Linked DNA regions of Homo sapiens: region 1 is linked to region 2. Evidence: promoter capture Hi-C in 16 types of primary human blood cells and fetal thymus (Javierre and others, 2016). All regions are on one chromosome and are shown on one strand. Each heading gives the region's core, a stretch centred on a gene start or on the middle of the fragment in contact. The rest is flanking DNA. Distances are from core to core; before and after follow the strand shown. Region 1 overlaps PADI2 (peptidyl arginine deiminase 2). Region 2 holds the start of PADI2 (peptidyl arginine deiminase 2).

What was found. The method cuts DNA at HindIII sites, captures the fragments that hold promoters and counts their contacts. A CHiCAGO score of 5 or more calls a contact.
Region 1: a fragment that was not itself captured here is called in contact with the fragment with the promoter of PADI2 in region 2 in 4 of 17 cell types (neutrophils, M0 macrophages, M1 macrophages and 1 more); the score reaches 14.5 in neutrophils.

Annotation. Positions count from the first base shown.
Region 1 is chr1:17,075,485-17,078,184 of GRCh38, reverse strand. PADI2 (peptidyl arginine deiminase 2) reads left to right here. Exons shown (of 16, transcript NM_007365.3): 12 at 2,362-2,506. Among named protein-coding and RNA genes, the nearest start is that of SDHB, 23 kb to the right of the region's middle. The HindIII fragment of the contact is 7,913 bases long and covers 1-2,700 here.
Region 2 is chr1:17,118,192-17,120,891 of GRCh38, reverse strand. It overlaps PADI2 (peptidyl arginine deiminase 2), which reads left to right and starts at 1,441. Exons shown (of 16, transcript NM_007365.3): 1 at 1,441-1,612. The coding sequence starts at 1,521. RefSeq lists an enhancer at 316-850 and a silencer at 1,422-1,631. The HindIII fragment of the contact is 8,283 bases long and covers 1-2,700 here.

The sequences.
Region 1 (2,700 bases), core at 74-2,573, 43 kb after region 2:
AGCCGAGATCGCGCCATTGCACTCCAGCCTGGGCAACAAGAGTGAAACTGCGTCTCAAAAAACAAAATAAAATAAAATAAAATATTAAATAAATCAGCTGGGGAAGGGATGGAGGAGTCCAGAGAAGGAAAACTGACAGGTATGAGTGGGAGCGTACCAATGAATCCTCAGGGCTACCATACTTAAAAGAGGTATGAGCAGACGTGGTCCTGCCCCAGAAATGTGAGTCCCTGGCTCCCTGGCCTGTCCATGATTCTCCTCACTCCCTGCCCAGTTGACCCACCAGCCAGTGAAAAGACAGATTCTTCCTTGTCAGGGCAGTCGCTGGGGAAAGAGTGAATACCTTAGGTTCTCACGTCACAAAAGGGCTGCCAGGAGCCTGCACAGATGGGGTCAGCCAGGATTTGGCCGCCAGTTTCCTCCGAGCCACATGGGATGCTCAGCCTTCTGCGGGGAGGCCACTGGCACAGCCAGCGACTGTTTGCCCACTTTTGCCTCCTTCTCCCTCCACTCAGTGGCCACTCATTCACTCAGCAACCATTTCCTGAGCACCAGCCAAGTGCCAGGCCCTGTGTCAGGCACAGGGTCCCAAACAGGAAGCCCAGCCCCTGCCTTCAAGGAGATAGCAGAGGTCTCAGGCATGCAAATAGACCCTGATGAAATGGAGGGACTTGCAACGATAGAAAGAATAACAGGGAGTCAGGTCAGCCCAGGGAGTGGCCCTGAACCCCCTCGAGGAGCTCAGGGGCGGCCCTTAAAGACAAATATTTATTGAGAAACTACTCTGTGCCAGGCACTATTCTAGGCTCTGGGGATACAGCGGTGACCAGAACAGATGAAGTCCCAGCTCTCCGGGAGTTTATAGTTGGGTAAGGGCAGTACAGAAAATAAACATGGAATCAAGTAAATCAATTAGATAATTCTGAATGCTGATACATGCAATGGAGAAGATAAAACAGGGTGACATGATAAAACATTCCTGGGGACAGGGGTGCCTTAGCTGTTGTTTTTTTGAAGATGTGACTAGAGTTGAGGCTTGGATGTTAAGAAGTAGGCAGCCATCAGGAGATTGTAAAGGAAGCGCATTCCATACAGAAGGAACAGCAAAGGGAAAAGCCCCAAGGGATAGCAAGTGTAGCAGGTGGCTGGAGCAGACAGAACCGGGGGAAGGGAGGGAAGCGAGGGAGGAGGGCTGGCCAGGAGCCAGATCAGAAAGGAATTTGTTGGCCACCCTAAGGAGCTAGGGTTATCTTCGGAGGATAATGGAGAGATTGCAGACCTTGGGGGGTCTAGAAATGAGGAAGGGCTGGCCGGGAGCGGTGGCTCACACCTGTAATCCCAGCACTTTGGAAAGCTGAGGTGGGCAGATCACGAAGTCAAGAGATCGAGACCATCCTGGCCGACATGGTAAAACCCCATCTCTACTAAAAATGCAAAAAAATTAGCTGGGCGGGGTGGTGGGCACCTGTAGTCCCAGCTACTTGGGAGGCTGAGGAAGGAGGATCGCTTGAACCAGGGAGGGAGATATTGCAGTGAGCTGAGATCATGCCACTGCACTGGTGACAGAGTTAGACTCTGTCTCAAAATACAAAAAACAAACACACACAAAAAAAGAAATGAGGAAGGGCTTCCTGGAGGAGGTTTCTCTTGAACTGATTAAAGATTAAAGTAAGTCCAGGCACAGTGGCTCACACCTGTAATCCCAGCAGTTTGGGAGGCCAAGGAGGGCGGATCATGAGGTCAGGAGTTCAAGACCAGCTTGGCCAACATGGTGAAACCCTGTCTCTACTAAAAATGCAAAAATTAGCCGGGCGTGGTGGCACACGCCTGTAGTCCCAGCTACTCAGGATGCTGAGGCAGGAGAATTGCTTGAACCCGGGAGGCAGAGGTTGCAGTGAACCAAGATCATGCCACTCTACTCCAGCCTGGGCAACATAGCAAGACTCCATCTCGGGGGAAAAAAAAAAGATTAAAGTAAGTAGAAGTTAATGTAGCAAAGAGGCACATGGATGAGGGCAGATTTTGGAGCCCTCCTGTGCCCTAGCCCCGTCCAGCAGGCCAGGTGGGACTCCCGCACACAAAAGGTAGCCTCTGCACACTCACTGGCACCCTCAAGGGCTGAAGCCTGGGCTCCCTGCCCTTCACACAGGCCGCAGCTGCAACTCACACCTACTCTTTCCCCTGGGACTCAAACGCCTTACTGCCTGCGCCAGGGTCTCTTAACCCAACCTAGTCTCCTTCCTGGGACTTCTCTGCTGATGTCACTCTGGGTCCGAGGTGGGTCCCAGAGACCAAACTCCTCTTGCAGGCCCTCTGGTGCGGTGGGTAATTTGCTGAAACTCCTCTTCCTCCCTTCTCCAGGTCTGGTGGTCGGAGGATGACCAAGGTGGTGCGTGACTTCCTGAAGGCCCAGCAGGTGCAGGCGCCCGTGGAGCTCTACTCAGACTGGCTGACTGTGGGCCACGTGGATGAGTTCATGTCCTTTGTCCCCATCCCCGGCACAAAGGTAAGCTAGCCTCCCGAGGCTGGAGTGAATGGGGTAGCAGCAAACCAATATATTACCCGCCCCTGCCAGCAGAGGGCAAGAGCTAGAGGAACTCGACAGCATAAAGGAAGGAGGAAGTAGGCTGAAGCTGGTTTGCATGTTGTTGCTGTGGCAGGTAAAATTTTAACCCCATAAATCCAAAATGTTAGCATTGC
Region 2 (2,700 bases), core at 192-2,691:
GGAGAATCAATTAAACCTGGGAGGCGGAGGTTGCAATGAGCTGAGATGGCGCCATTGTACTCCAGCCTGGGTAACAAGAGGAAAACTCTGTCTCAAAAAAAAAAAAAAAAAACAGTTACTGGCCTCTCCCTGGGTCTGTGAGCTGTGCCTTTGGGGGACAAATGACCTCCTGGCTAAAACTCGGGCCTTCCCTCTTCCCCACTCACATTCCTCCCAAATCCCTGCCACTCAGAAGCAGCTGGGCTCTTCACCACCTCCTAATTTGGGCCGCCTCAGGGAGAAGGTTGGAGTCCAAGGGCTGGGTATATCAGCACTGGGCACTTGTGGGCCTCACCCCTCTTGTCTGGGGGCACCCGTTCCTGGAGCTCCATCTTCCATCAGCTCTAACTCCTTCCCAAACACACATCCCCTCCGCCCCACTCCTTCCCTCCCACGGCCTCTGCCCACCCCCCCTCAGTTTCTGTCCTCACCTACCAAAGACCACTTCCTCACACAGGGCTGATGTATGTGTCTGAACAGCACTCCCACTGGGTCCCAGGGGAAGGGCTGGGACATGGGAGGGGCTGGCCGAGGCCCACACTGATTGTCATCCTACATCTCAGCCTCTGTGAGACACACGATGACCTCTGGGTGGCACCCCCCTTCCCTTGGTGGCCCAGGCCAGAACCGGGGCCCTAATCCTTACCCCTCTCCTCTCCCTCCACCCACACATCCTATCAGTCACCAGGTGCCACCAAAATCCCAGTCCCTAAGCAGTGGCCGGGTCAGTCCCCACCTCTCCAGCTCTGGCCACAGCCAGGGGCTTCCTTGCCCCTCCCCAGCCCAGAATGACCCATTTCACGAGCACACCCGACCACGGCTCGCGGAGACAACCACTCCAGGCTCCCATCTCCCACCCTCCAATGCCTTGGCTTGGCGTCCTGGTCTCCCTCAGCTGCCGGGTTCCCCATCCCCACCGCTTCCCGTTTTCTCTATGGTGAGGTTCATCTGACTGTTGGGGGATGGGGGTACCGGGCTGCACCCGGCTTTGCACAGGCAGCTCCCTCTCCTCGCCTTTAATTTGCAAACGCCTCCTTTAAGAAGGTTCCAGGATCGTCTTCTCTGGGAAGGCTTCCTGGCCCCCAGGCTGGGTTAGGGCACCCTCTTTGTGTTCCCACATTTGCATTTTCAGCCCCACTGGGCTGGGGCGTCCGGAGGGGAGCTAGGGCCCTCCAACACCTGGGCGCCCACCGAAGGTTTGTCGAATGAAAGAATGACAATCCAACCATGGAAAGCACAAAACTGGTCCCTGATGACTTCGCCACGACCTCAGCGGGGCGGGACGAGTTAGGGGCGGGACCACGCTTGACGGACAGGCCCGCAGCCCACTGCGAGAGGACTGGGGCGGGCCGCCCCGCCCACCGGCCGCTGGATAAGGCTGCGCGCGGGGCCGTGGGGCGCAGGCTGCTGGAGAAGGCGCACCTGCTGCAGGTGCTCCCGGCCGCCCCGGACCAGCGAGCGCGGGCACTGCGGCGGGGAGGATGCTGCGCGAGCGGACCGTGCGGCTGCAGTACGGGAGCCGCGTGGAGGCGGTGTACGTGCTGGGCACCTACCTCTGGACCGATGTCTACAGGTGAGCCGGCCCACCGTGATGCCCGGGCCGAGATCTCGAGCCCAGAAATCCTGAGACGCGCTCAGACTCGGGGACGTGGACAGCCTTTGTCCAGCCCGAGTTGTCCCTCATCCCGAGCCCCCGAGCCCAGAAATCCTAAGAATCTCATCCAGAAACCTGACAACCCCCGAACCTTGTGTCCACCTTCCAGAAACCCTGAGACTCTCCCAGACCCCCTAACACAGCCTCAGCCCCAGCTCCCTCACAGACCCTCCCTTTCACCCGTAACCCTCCGTCTGGCCCTCTCCAGTTCTCCTCCCGGGGGACCTCACACCCCTTCAGCTTCCCTGCCGTCCTCTCCCCTTTCACTTCCCCTCCGCACCTCACTTCCCCTCGGACCCACCTCAACCCAGCCCCTCTCCTGCTTCCCACTCCCAGTTCAGCGGAGCTTCCGCGGAGACTTGCCGGGGACTGGGGCAGGACCCGAAGGGAGCTGCCCTGAGGCTGAATCCGGCCCTGGAGGTTACTCAGGCTCCGATTTCGCCCTGTGGGGGCTGCTGGTGGTTGCTTGTCCCCAGGCACTGGCCCTGAGCTCCGTGTCCCCAGATACCTTCCCCTGACTTCATTCTGAGACCACAGAGGGACAATATTCTACCCAGCTGACGACGGGGACTTGGGGTGTATAGCGGGGTACTTTGTTGGAAAAGGATCCTGATTCAGAGTTCTGCTCCCTCCCCTTCTCTCTGTCCAAGAACTTGGTAGAGTGCGGGATGTCCGAGACAGCTGAAGGTAGGGTAGGGCCCTACCACTCCCCCCGCAATCCCAGAAAGCAGCCAAGTCCAATGATCTGTCTCCCTGAGTAATGGGACGGGGCCTTGGAAAGGTGTGGCTGGTGTGAATGAAAGGGTGGGGTTATGCTGGGGTTTGATCTGCCCCCTCTATTCCAAGCATTTAAAACCTCCCCATTGCTAGGGTTGGAGGGGTCAGTGCTGGGGGCAGGGAGCATGCAGGACTCTGAGGTGGGACCCTGTGCTGACACCGGATGAGTCCCCTATCCTCTCTGCCTCAAGCTGAACTCACACGGAGGCACCATCGTGGTTTATGGCTCT